4 separate regions of the Homo sapiens genome follow, and all the other regions are linked to region 3. The links are contacts of gene promoters, found by promoter capture Hi-C in blood cells and fetal thymus (Javierre and others, 2016). All regions are on one chromosome and are shown on one strand. Each heading gives the region's core, a stretch centred on a gene start or on the middle of the fragment in contact. The rest is flanking DNA. Distances are from core to core; before and after follow the strand shown. Region 1 overlaps PEX5L (peroxisomal biogenesis factor 5 like). Region 2 overlaps PEX5L (peroxisomal biogenesis factor 5 like). Region 3 holds the start of CCDC39 (coiled-coil domain 39 molecular ruler complex subunit). Region 4 overlaps USP13 (ubiquitin specific peptidase 13).

Evidence for each region. The method cuts DNA at HindIII sites, captures the fragments that hold promoters and counts their contacts. A CHiCAGO score of 5 or more calls a contact.
Region 1: a fragment that was not itself captured here is called in contact with the fragment with the promoter of CCDC39 in region 3 in 1 of 17 cell types (endothelial precursors); the score reaches 5.2 in endothelial precursors.
Region 2: a contact is called between a fragment that was not itself captured here and the fragment with the promoter of CCDC39 in region 3, in 1 of 17 cell types (endothelial precursors). The highest score is 5.3, in endothelial precursors.
Region 4: a fragment that was not itself captured here is called in contact with the fragment with the promoter of CCDC39 in region 3 in 2 of 17 cell types (M2 macrophages and M1 macrophages); the score reaches 5.8 in M2 macrophages.

Annotation. Positions count from the first base shown.
Region 1 is chr3:179,926,760-179,929,872 of GRCh38, forward strand. All of the region lies in intron 2 of PEX5L (peroxisomal biogenesis factor 5 like), which reads right to left. Among named protein-coding and RNA genes, the nearest start is that of PEX5L-AS2, 30 kb to the left of the region's middle. The HindIII fragment of the contact is 476 bases long and covers 1,246-1,721 here.
Region 2 is chr3:179,800,051-179,803,170 of GRCh38, forward strand. It overlaps PEX5L (peroxisomal biogenesis factor 5 like), which reads right to left. Exons shown (of 15, transcript NM_016559.3): 15 at 1-1,982. The coding sequence ends at 1,778. Among named protein-coding and RNA genes, the nearest start is that of PEX5L-AS2, 97 kb to the right of the region's middle. The HindIII fragment of the contact is 2,808 bases long and covers 156-2,963 here.
Region 3 is chr3:180,677,773-180,680,888 of GRCh38, forward strand. It overlaps CCDC39 (coiled-coil domain 39 molecular ruler complex subunit), which reads right to left and starts at 1,717. Exons shown (of 20, transcript NM_181426.2): 1 at 1,519-1,717. The coding sequence starts at 1,608. CCDC39-AS1 (CCDC39 antisense RNA 1) reads left to right here and starts at 2,309. Exons shown (of 2, transcript NR_046725.1): 1 at 2,309-2,418. RefSeq lists enhancers at 1,989-2,088, 2,169-2,218. The HindIII fragment of the contact is 3,343 bases long and covers 795-3,116 here.
Region 4 is chr3:179,770,349-179,773,382 of GRCh38, forward strand. All of the region lies in intron 19 of USP13 (ubiquitin specific peptidase 13), which reads left to right. Among named protein-coding and RNA genes, the nearest start is that of USP13, 120 kb to the left of the region's middle. The HindIII fragment of the contact is 4,298 bases long and covers 1-3,034 here.

The DNA.
Region 1 (3,113 bases), core at 234-2,733, 750 kb before region 3:
AGGTGTTCAACAAATATCTGTGAAATGAATGAGTAGATACAAAATAAAATATTGTTTAACCGTGTAAACTTTCTGGGTAATTTTGGAAATGGCTTCAACTCATAGAAATGGTCACCATCCAAAACAATTTTTATGATTTCTGGGTAATGCCCCATTTTAGTGTGTTTAGGAAAAAAGTAATGGTGTGGACTTAGGCAGATCCGGGTCTCAGTTTTGAATATATATGTCCTTGGAATTTTTAAGCAAATTGTTTAAACTCTCTGGAAGTTAGTTTTCTCAGTTAAAAAATGAAAGTTTGAATTTTGTGAGCTCAAATTATTTTTAATTATCTATTAATTAAACAAGTATTTACTGAGCATGTAGTATGTCCTAGGCATTTGGGATCGCTGGTGAACAAGACTGATGCCATCACTGTAAGCTTACAGCTTAGTGAAGGACTCGGGTTCTTCCAAATGGTGAAACGTGTGATAAAGAGAGGCACATGGTACAATGGAGCACAGACAGGGACCCTGACTAAGTGTAGGCTCTCAGGGTAAAGACAGAGGCTGTGGCTTGAGATCTGAAAGATAGTTACGATTAACTAGGCACAGAGGGGTTGGGAGTCCTGCCAGTGTAAGGAGAGAGGCATGTTCTAAGAAGGGAAACAGGCCAGTGTGGCTGCCTGCAGAGAGTGATAGGGAGAGGTAGGCAGGGGCTAGCCTGTGTCACTCAGAGAGTGGTATGTGGACTGTGAACTGTTTGCTACCTTACTGGGGATGAGGCAAGTATAAAAATTGGAAGTCTACATTGTAGAAATTTTTGTAGCCATTTCACAAAGTAATTTTATGTTTGTTAAACTAATAATAAAATTGGGCTTGCATTTTGTGTGACTTTTTCCATTTCATTTATTTGAAAAATTAATTGTTATTTTCTTTATAAAATCATCAATCTGCAAGGAATTGGACATTAAAAAAACAAAACCAAACAAAACCTGCCCTTCACCATCGTTTGTGTAACCTTGCAAGCTAAGTTAAAGATTTTGGTTTTCATCTTATGAGAAATAGTGTAAACTGTAGCAAATGCTCATGTCACTAGCACACTAGTTTGCTGTTTAAATGGGGGAAGTTTTAGCCAATAATTTTCTTTTCTATTGTAATTATTTAACCTAATATATCAAAAATTATCATTTCAATATGTGATCATAAAATATTATTAATGAAGTATATATTTCTGGGACTAAATCTTTCCAAGTCACTCTGTATGTTAAGCTTCCAGCACATCCCAATTTAGGCAATGCATTTGAATGCACAGGTCTTGTTTCCCCACTTTTATTTATGTTAAGGTTGATCAGTGGGTCCAGGGACTATCTGCCTGTTCCTTTCATATAATTGTTTAACATTTGCCAACAATTCTCTTTACTTCAGTAATAGTTGAGTAAAACCAGTTTGCACGCTTACAGGAAGCCAGATTGTGAGCCTTTGGGTGGGCTTATATGCTCCTGCATCACCAGAGCCTACTTTATTACAGAGAGAAGCTCAATAATATTTGCCAGATTAAATTACAACCATAATTCAGAATAGCCATTCTCAACATTTTCAGCCTGTGATCCAACTGGGAACACCTGTACCCATCCCTTTTGGAGGAGGTCCCAGGAGACAAAGAGCCATTTACAAATGGCTGAGGGTGGGGACTGAGAGAGTGCTAGGGCCTCTCGGGGACACACACCCTTCCTTCCCCACTTAAGCTTCAAACAATGTGTCGAGGGGCCTTTAAAAACCATTTACAACAAATGGTGGGTAGGCAGTGGACAGCATTTAAACAGTTGTGTATCTGAGTTACAATCTCAACTCTCCAACTGATTCTGGATTGAATTTTAAGCATTTTCCATCATTTCCTGCAAGCAACCATCACCTACCACCGGAAGCACAGTTCTGTGTTAGATCTAAAACTCAGTGATTCTTATAAAAACCCAGCAGTCCCTTTTGATGTGACAGAGAAAAATTGAGGGCAAAGACCTAGAGTTGGCTTATACTCATTCCATTTTATCACATAAAGAACAAAACTACTGGAGCACAAGCCCCAGTTTTTGCTGAAGGCAATTAAATCCTAACCCATTCCAGCAAAATCATCAAGATCCAGGCTTGAAGCCCCTCCATGCCATTACCTTTCCATACATTCTCCTTAGTCTGATGACTGAAATTTGTAAACAGCTGTCCCTGTCATTAGTGTGAGTTACTGAGAATCCAGCTGTAATTCTATTCTTCTTTTCTAACTCTGTTAAGTTATATCCAAAAAGGGAAACATGTCAGGCCAGTAGGGCTCACATGATAATGACTTATTCCATCAAGTCTCAATAATCTTCTAATGAAGAAAAGTACCGGCAAGGATTACCTAAACCAAGGGATAATCCTAAGTGACATGTTTAGAAACCCTGATTTTTTTTTAAGGGATTAGCTCTAGCCTCCCAAACAGTTAAAAATCAGGTTGCTTCCCTAGCTGACAGCAGGGGGCAGCAGATCAGAGTCAGTTCTGTGCAAGTGGTTTCAAGGATGGAAAATCTGTGATGGAAAAATCCTCAAAGTACTTAAATCTAAATATAGAAAACCTAAAAGTTGATTCCTCATTTAAAATTTATTTGACAAAAGAGTAGAGCTAAGTATAAAGAATTTTGCATTTATTTTCAGTCCATATTCTGTATTACATTTATTTTACAGTTCATATTGCATTAGGTTGCATCTTGTGAAGTTGCCATTTTTTTTTTTTTTTTGGTAAGTCAGAAGCTGTTAAATATTGGTAATTTCATAGGATTAAACCTTATAGTTTGGAGCAGCATTTAGATATAGAACTACTCTTTAAGTATACACAAAGAACAGGCACATGTTTGCATTTGGCAACCGCCCCTGGTTCAGAGAGATGATTATGAGTCCCTGTGGACGTTAAGATCAGTTCCTGCCTAATGCCCCTGCCCCTGCCTCTTCCTGCTCCCTAAAACTGGGATCATGGATAACCTTCAACTCCCATGACATCTTTTCCCAAACCAATCACATCTCCAGTGTCAGTCACTCTGTCCCCACCCACGTTTTTTAAATCTGTCCCGGTGACCTGCGTAGACCTATCTTGCTCTTTCTGGTTCT
Region 2 (3,120 bases), core at 310-2,809, 880 kb before region 3:
GGTTATAACATATGTAAGCCTCAAGGACTTGTGGTTTCTGTTAACTTGAGGCCCTCTCACAACCCAAGGACTTCAGATGTAACAGAGGAGAGGATTTTATTCCTGTACCTCGCATTCAATTGATAAGCACGTGTGCACATTTACTCCTCAGTAGAAGCTTATTCCCCAGCCAATTAGACTGTTTTGATCCCAATTCTGTGGAGTCTTTTTTGTTGTTGTTGTTTTATTTTTTGTGGGTAGCTATAATCATGAGCGGGATGAGCTATTATTATCAAAGAACATAAATAAAAAGTTGTTAGGATTAGCTACTGTGGGGAAGGTTCTAGACGAAGGAAGGAGACCAGGTAAAGAAGAATGGGATAACTTCTATACCTGACATTGGGAAAATTATATTCTGATTAGCATTTTGCAAAAAATGTTCCTAATTCTTTAAAAAATGTATCTTTCAAAATAATCACCAAGCCCCAAACACATACAAAACACTGTGGAGAACTAAGTGGAATTCAACCAATTAAAACACCACTGCTAATAGAAAATTCCCAATACTTGCTAAATGTTCAAAGAGCCAAAGAGGCATGCATCTTTCATATGAAATCACTGGCATTCAGTGAGATTTGGTTTGAAAGTGTTGCTCTTCTATCACTTAGAATGCAAGGGGATGAACAGTGCAGATTATTATGAAACTAAGAAAACATAATTTTTAGGAAAAAATGTTATTTATCACTCTTAAGAAATATTATTTAAAATATTTATGGTTTAAAAGGAATATTGGTGTGCAGGGCAAAGCCAGTAAAGTATGACACTTAAGCAAGTTAATTTGAACTCAATAGAAATCACGATACCATCAAACTTTCTTCCTGCAGAGAATGCATGAAGAGACAGTACCTTGTGTCTTACTTATGTTCATACAGACCCAGAAAGCACGTGAATGAAAAGATCTGTTTGCCATATTTACGCCTTATGTCATCGTATCTGCTTTAAGAAAAACACTTCTTCAAAATCCTACACTATGAAAAACTGTCTTCAGGAATTGTTTATTTGGTCCGTTGATCTAGTGAGGCTGAGTTCTTAAATCTTTCACCCCCAAGTTAAAAATTGGAGCAACAAAACAAAACTCCAGCAAGGCATAAATAAGATATTAAAGTGCATATATACAATACCAGAAAAGTTTAGATTGGGAACAGCAAAAATTTCTAGTGCAAAAACTGCTTTTGCCAGCAAAGCTCCCTCTCTGGAATCAAAGGGCTACAGTAAAAGTTAAAATTGGAACAGGTTTAAGCAATGTCTGTCTTTAGTCACAAGTTAATATATGTGCATGCACCAATGGCCCAAACTATGTTCAGTCTTGCAAAAGAAGACAGTTCAGAAACAGTCAGAATTTCCCAATCTGAGGCAGTGCTTTTTCCATGTTTCCCATGAACAAGTTCCTCAGATGTGTCATCAGCTGCAAGGGGAGACAAAAAACCCAAAGAACATGTGTTGCAATATGCTTGCAACTTGTGGAAAGAGTATTCAACACACAGTTACTTTATCTTGGTTTGTCTTGAGTCTCTTAATTCTTCTTTTGAGCCTGACTTTGACTCTATATACAACATTTTGTGCTTTTGGATCTGAACAGAGACTGGGCATTGTCCACAGGAATTAATTTCCTTGGGCTATATGACCATGGCCTTTTGAATATTTGATTTATCCTTTTGAAATTCATAATAAAATAGTTTTTGATTTTTCAGTACAATCACACAGATCAGGGATTATTAGTACTGGTATTATTCTTTCTTCAAGGATCCAAGTTGAAAGCTCTTAAGAGGACATCCAGGTCACCAAGATTAGCCGCCTGGAAGAGTTCTGGTTGGTCCATCAGAGAGAGCGCAATTCTGAGGGCAGCCCAGATATTCCCAGAGATTGCAGGATGAGGAACTTGCTGCTGATTCCTGCTCTTTCTTTGCAAACTGAGGGCAGTGAGAAAATTGCTGACCGCTTCTCTAAGAAGGTAGAAAAACATATTTTAAAATGAGTCACATTTCAGAGTTAGCAAATGTAAACAAAACAAAACAAAATTGGATTAAGTGATTTTAATCTAAAATCTTAAATCACCTCTTACGTGTTCTGGATGATCAAATGAACAACTTTCTAATTCTCTTATATTCTTTAGTGAGCAATCATTGTTAAATACAGTGAGGTCAGAAAGAAAAAAGAAAAGCAGGCTGGACATGGTGGCTCAAGCCTGTAATCCCAGCACTTTGGGAGGCCAAGGCAGGTGGATCACTTGAGGTCAGGAGTTCAAGATCAGCCTGGCCAACATGGTGAAACCCTGTCTCTACTAAAAATACAAAAAATAGCCAGGTGTAGTGGCATGCCCCTGTAATCCCAGCTACTAGGGAGGCTGAGGCAGGAGAATGGCTTGAACCCAGGAGACAGAGGTTGCAGTGAGCCGAGATCACACCACTGCCCTCCAGCCTGGGCAACAGAGTGAGACTGTCTCAAAAAAAAAAAAAAAAAAAAAAGAAAAGAAAAGAAAAGAAAATTTTATTTTAGGAATGTCACGTGGGAGAGAAAGAATAATAGCAAAACCATGCAAATTCATTAATGCATTCGATTTTCCTCTGCTCTAGGAATGATTTGAACACTTAATGCATTTGCAGATTTGATTTCTATAACTAGGTTTAAGAGGAAGAATATAGCCCTACTTAAAAACAAAGTGGTCTAATTTTTCCCATTAGTGCTAGATGTATGGAACACAGCTAGAGTAGATTGAGTTTATTACTGGGCACCTGTCTTGAATCCCAGTTATTTAGCAGTAGGCAAATTTCTTGTTTTTTTTTTTTCCAAGGATTACTTTCCCTGAGTGTGTAATAGGGATAATCAAAGGCATTTAAAAACTTTGTGAGGTGCAGTTGAATCAATCTACATGAAAGCTCTTATCACTGAGTAAGATCAATAGTCCTCAAAGTGTGGTCTGGAGAAGCTTGGGAATCAATGAGGTCAAAATTATTTTTATGATAAAGCTAATATGTTATTTGATTTTTTTGCTTTCATTTTCTCACATGCTTACAGTGGAATTTTCCAGAGACTACATGGTGCATGATATCGCAACAGACTGACTGCAGAAGCAGGTGTGAG
Region 3 (3,116 bases), core at 467-2,966:
TGTGTGTTTAATGCCATGGTAATCATTTCTACAGTACAGTGGACACTTTGGAGAGGAAATACCTTATGTTTTTATCTCATACCCTTCTATTCTGTTTGAATATCTTAAATTTACAGGAGTTGCTTTTTAAATGTCAGAGTTTAAAAAGCAATTTAATTTAATGCAATTGTGGTGCTCATTTTTCTTCTTTATATGGCTCTATACTTTTTTAAAAGAGCTAATATACTTAATATGTACATAAAAATCCTGTGTGACACATATTATGGCAAGAATACTAAAACCTAAAATTTGGATGGAACCTTAACCCATATTATGTCCCTAGAGCCCGCGAAGTAATTAGTTTGTTCATCTCCATCTCCGCTTTACAAAAAAAGAAGCAGGATTAGGGTTGGTAAGTAGGATCTGAACCCAGGGCTGGATACTTAGTATTAATTCCTCGGTACTCAGTGCTAGATCCCTTACATTTCCTAATATTGCCCTCCTTTGGGGAAAAATTGCAGTCTTCTAAATTACACATGAGTAAATAGGTCAGAACGTGTTAAAAAGCATTTCCATTGTTTTCAAAAGGTAGAGTAACAGGATTTTCATTTTCCTTTTTTAGAGCTGAGAAAACTTTCTGTTCCGTTTTACAAAGTTGTGTAAGCATCATCTGTTATTCTTGGACCTTCTTCTACACAACATATCACCACCAAAGTTTTTCAAAATTTGCTGACCCGGTTGCAATTTTTTATTTTTTTATTTTTTCGTAGAGACGCGGTGGGAGGGGTTTGTGGGGGGTCTCGCTTTGTTGTTCAAGCTTGTTTTACTCCTGGCTTTTAGGGTTCCTCCGCCTCAGCCTCCCAAAGTGCTGGGATTACAGGTGTGAGCCACTGCGCCCGGCCTGCAATTTTTTTTTTTTTAACAACTGCTATGAATTGTAGTTAGTGTAAGTTCGTCCTTGCAACGTAAAATTTCTTATGTTAATCTGTGACAACTCAATCTTCTCTTTGAAAAACTGTAAACCGCACATTTCATTCTTACCGGGCTGTTCCTCTTGAAAACATCTCAAGTCACTTTCAGCTTTAAACATTACAGACAAAAACTCACAAAGAAATATGAACCTTCTGGAGTTTAATTTATAAACGTGCGCAAATAACCGTTGCTATGCAAACCTCAGAAATTCTTTTCCAAGTAGCTCTTTAATTTTTGAGCAAGGAAAAAGCGGGCGCCGGAACCAGCCTTTCCTCTCTCGCCAGGAGGAACGAAATAAGTAAGAGGAGTGGGCATGAGGAAGGGAGTAATAATTCGAGCTTTATAACCCTAAATGTCAATTATGGTTTTAATAGCATTTTTAAATGCTTAACAATTACTGAAATAGGCAGAGAGGGTAAGGGAGGAGGGCGATGGTGCGGGGGAGTGTTAGAGGAAGCACAGGATTAGGAAAGGAGAGAAATAAAAGGGCTGGGGTAGTACTGCCAACCAGAAAACGCCCCCAACAGGCTCTCTCTGCTTCCTCCCGCCTGCTTCAATTGATCTCACCTGATCTTCCAGTAGCTTGTTCTCCTCGTTCGCCACCGGGATGGCGAACCCATCCTCCCAGTGCAGCTCAGCCAGGAATTCGCTACTCATGACTGCAAACGGATAGAGAAGATACAGAGCAAAGATCCGCCTTCTTGTACAGCGGGTGAGCAGCACCCGCGTCAAGCCCAGGCACCTGCACAGTGCCGCGGCAATTGCCGGGGGAGCCCTAGCAACCTTCCCGCGTCCTTAGTTACCAAACAGGAAACGCTCCAGCCCGAAGGCGAAACTTCCGGTTGAGAACTCCCTGCCTGCAGGCCGAAGAATCTTTTTCTTACCTTGAGCACTGAGGGATGAGCAGCAACTTGCCCCTCCCGACGTTCCCGGGGGTTGCCAGGCGGCAGCGTAACTTTCCACGAAAAGGCGGCTCTCGGATCGCTCCCGGAGCGTGTGAAAACTGTGGCCCCCGGAGCTGGCTGGAGGACCACGGGGCAGCTGGCTGGAAGTAAACCACACGATCCTCCGATTGCCTGGGGGAAGACGGGAGCCAACAGGGATTATAAACTAAGTTTCTTTTCAAGGTGTGTTTGCTGTGTTGTGTAGATTTCAGCTACTACAGTAGGTGAAAGTAGACCGAAGTGAACTGGTGTTTGGAAACAACTCTCTCTCTGGCATCACTGGGATGTTCTGATCGTCGCCTGTTTCAGTCGGCCAGCCTTCCTCACCGCACTCACCGGCCCCATCGCGGATGTCCCAGTCGATCACAGACGCGGACCGCGCGGAGGCCGCACACTTGTGGCGCGGTGTGGTGGTCCCTCCGGCACCACTCCCATACTTGCATTTTTCTTTGCATTTTTGTTTGCTAACATTTAAAGTGTGGAATTTCGCATAAACGTCTGTATTTCCTCTGCTTGAAAAAGGGTAGGTGACACAATCCCCATTATCAAAAGGCAATGTTCCGCTGGAGAGGCGCCCCCTTTAGACCAACAAAGCACTTTACCAGTTCACTAATTTGAATTACCTGCTTGGCACGGGTAGGCATTTGAGTTATAGTCTCTCTTGTATAGTATCTCAGAACTGGAAAGGACAAAACAATCAACTAATCTAATCCTTTCATTTTCTCGGTAAGTTAAACCGAGGCTCCTTGAGGCAAAGTGATTAAAGAAGGGATGCTGTGCATGAATTAATTTTACGTATCCAATAATCATCTGTAATTTTTTTTGCTCTTTCGAATTTTATTTTACCTAGACATTGTTAAACTTTTATTATAAATATTTTAAATGTATATGGGAATAGAAAGCAGAGTATAAATAACTGCTATATATGCATCACCTTGATTTAGCATTCATATTTTGCCATGTTAGCATCATCTGTATCTTTTGCTCAAGTGAAAAAATAATCATAGACATCATGACATTACAGCCCTAAATACATGAGCATGTATTGGTAGAAGAGTGGTTAATGTTATCTAACATAAGCACAATATCATTATCACACCTATAAAAATCAACTATTCTTCAATATCATCTAATAACCATTTCAGATTCATATTTCGACTGTCCTAAAAATGTCTTTTTACAGTCGATTTGTTTGTCACTATAGTTCTGAAATCCTCCTGT
Region 4 (3,034 bases), core at 341-2,840, 910 kb before region 3:
TAGTTATATCTCGAAATTACATTTTCACTGTTACTTATGAATACAAATTTTCCCCATTGTATATTAAACATTGCTGCTAAATTATATAAAGGTACCGATTTTGTAATTGGCCATTCTCTAGGGGTTTGACTGGCATTACATTAAATTTATAGGTTAACCTGGGAAGATGTGTGTTCTGTTTAGCTAGGTTGTTTAAATTCCCAAGTCATTTCTTTTTACTTTTTCTGGTTGGTGAATTGACTGAGGTATATGACTTGAGAATTTTTTTTTTTTTTGAGATGGAGTCTCGCTCTGTCGCCAGGCTGGAGTGCAGTGGCGCCATCTCAGCAAACTGCAACCTCCAACTCCCTGGTTCAAGCTATTCTCCTGCCTCAGCCTCTGGAGTAGCTAGGATTACAGGCACGCGCCACCACACCCAGCTAATTTTTATACTGTTTTTAGTACAGATGGGGTTTCACCATGTTGGCCAGGATGGTCTCCATTTCCCGACCTTGTGATCTGCCTGCCTTGGCCTCCCAAAGTGCTGGGATTACAGGTGTGAGCCACTGCACCCAGCTGAGAATATTGAATACAATTAAAGAGTAGGGGTAATTGGTGTTTGAGGAACCAAAACAAACAAAATAAAAACAACTTCAGTTTTCAGGGTTTTAAGTGGCAAGAAGTCCAAGACAAATCTGTCTAAGCAAAAAGGGAAATATTTTCTCATGAAAGCTGGCAAGTCCTGGGGGCACTGGGCTGCAGGCCTGCCGTGATTCAGGACTCAAATCCTTTTAGCTGGATGGGCCCCTTGGCTCTGCTTCCTCTAGGTTGGTTCCAGTCCCAGACAGGCTCTCCCTAATGGCACAAGATGGCTGCAGCGCCTCCCACAACTATATCTTTCCAGGTTAAAATCTAGCTAAGTCTTGTCCCAGAGTTCTCAGCAAAGGTCCTGAGAGCCTGAGACTCTGTGAGACTCCGTTATGTGCCCTGTCCTACTCCAAGTCACTGAGGCAGGTTGATTCAGGCCTGCATTATGGGCCTCACTCCTAGAACCTGAGGGTGGAGACATCTTCCATCCTCTCACCTGAGCTGAGAAGGGACAGGTTGATCTCCTTCAAGCACTGGTTCAAGTGTGGTTCGGACTAATAGAATCACCTGAGAACTTGTTAGGACTGATGTTGCCCCACTTCAGACCTGCTGAATTAGGAACTCTGGGTGAGGCCCAGTAATCTGTGTTTTAACAGGACATCCAGGTGATTCTGATGCAGCTTAAACTTGAGAATTACCACCTTAAAAGCAGTGTTAGGTTACTGTTGCTTTAAGAAGGAGGGTCGTGGCTACTGGGACTTTGTCACACCAGGTTAACACTGAAATAATAAGGTAGGTGTTATGAAGTGGAAAAAAGCTATTATTACAAGGGTAGGGATTAAAGAAGTACAGGTATCAAATTTTTCCTTTTAGGAATATGTTAATTAAAAATCACTGTTTCCATTTTTCTGAATGTGGAAGTAATGCTACTGCATGAAACGATTATCTAAATGGCGTCTAATTTGTTTAAAAAGGTTAGTGCTATTAACACTTGATGAAATAGTGGCTGTCATTTCCTGAATGCCTCCTCTGTGCCAGGCACTTCCTTGACCACTTTTCCTTCACTGCTTATAGGGAGGTATTCTGATGAGGAAGTGGTGACAAAGCTAAGTGGTTTGCTAGTGGTAGAACCAGGTTAGAATTCAGGCCTGTTTGATTTTGAAGGCTGTGCAGTTTTTCCTTTATCCCCGATTGAGTCATCTTATTTCACATTTTGTATTGGAATGGAGACGAGAGTCTATTTTCTACCATGTTCTGCACATTTTAGGGCTAGCACCTAACTTTCTGTTGAGTTTTTTAAAACTTTAAAGCTAGAAATCAGGCCGTCACTCTGACCTATCGGGGCTTCTGCTATGTGCAAAATCATTTCTGTTTTCATGTTTCACTTAATGAGCATTTAATTTTTCTTAAGAAAAGAACTCACTGATTGCCAATGAAATTAACATGTGATTAGGCTGTGATTACTCAGAGCCTGCTCTGGCTCCTTCAGCCACTTTGGTGTAATGGTTTAGATGTCTCCGATGCTGCTGAGATTTTCCAGGCAGGGAGCAGAGAGGCGTTCATTTGCATAACGCTGGGGTTCCTGAGGTGCTGAGCTCCCTGAGGAATGCCACCCAGAAGAGGATCTAGGGGGCAAAAGGTACAGCTCCCCAGGGAAGCTAAGCCCCAGTGGTCGACTGGAAAGTCACATAGACACTTCATGCCACTGGTGCTAATTCTCCTCCCACTTAGCACTTGTTGCAGTTCCTAATTTTTTCAGCGGTGCTGTTGAAAGTTAAGAGGCAGCCACTCTTGAGTAAACTGATTTACACTGAAGGATAAATGATGGAGAACTATTAGACTTGGAAGGAAGTGTTTGCCTTTCGGAGCATTCGGCATTGTAACCGAGAGACTGGTAATTTGGAGCTGGCTAGGGTTGGGGGAAGCAATTCGTAGACCCTTTACAATTCTGTTGCTATCAGCTGCCTTCCGATGTTATTGATTTACCTAGGTCTGTCTTCTCTTTTTGAGAATTCAGAAATTTCTGAAAGCTCCAAATACTCCTCCCTCCCACACTGTTTTTTCTCAGAGAGGGCATGAGGGGAAATCAAGCTGTTGGAGAGATTGAACTTGTTGTATATTGCGCCTGATATACTTTGGATGTTTGTCCCCTCCAAATCTCATGTTGATATGCAAACTGCAGTGTTGGAGGTGGGACCTGGTGGGAGGTGTTTGGGTCATGGGAGTGGATCCCTCATGAATACCTTGTGGGGGAAAAGCATATCCCAGATAAATACCCAGATATTGGGTGCTTATGAGGCAAATGTTAGTAAGTTGGCAATTTTATTTCCCCCGCTTTGTACAGAGGGAGTTAGAGATAGGCAATGACACAAATTAATCAAGTAAAGAGCATTGGATGAGAACCCAGTTTTTCTCACCAGAGGACTGCTGTGCCTCTGGGGTCTTGGTAGTTATTTTAGGGAGTGTT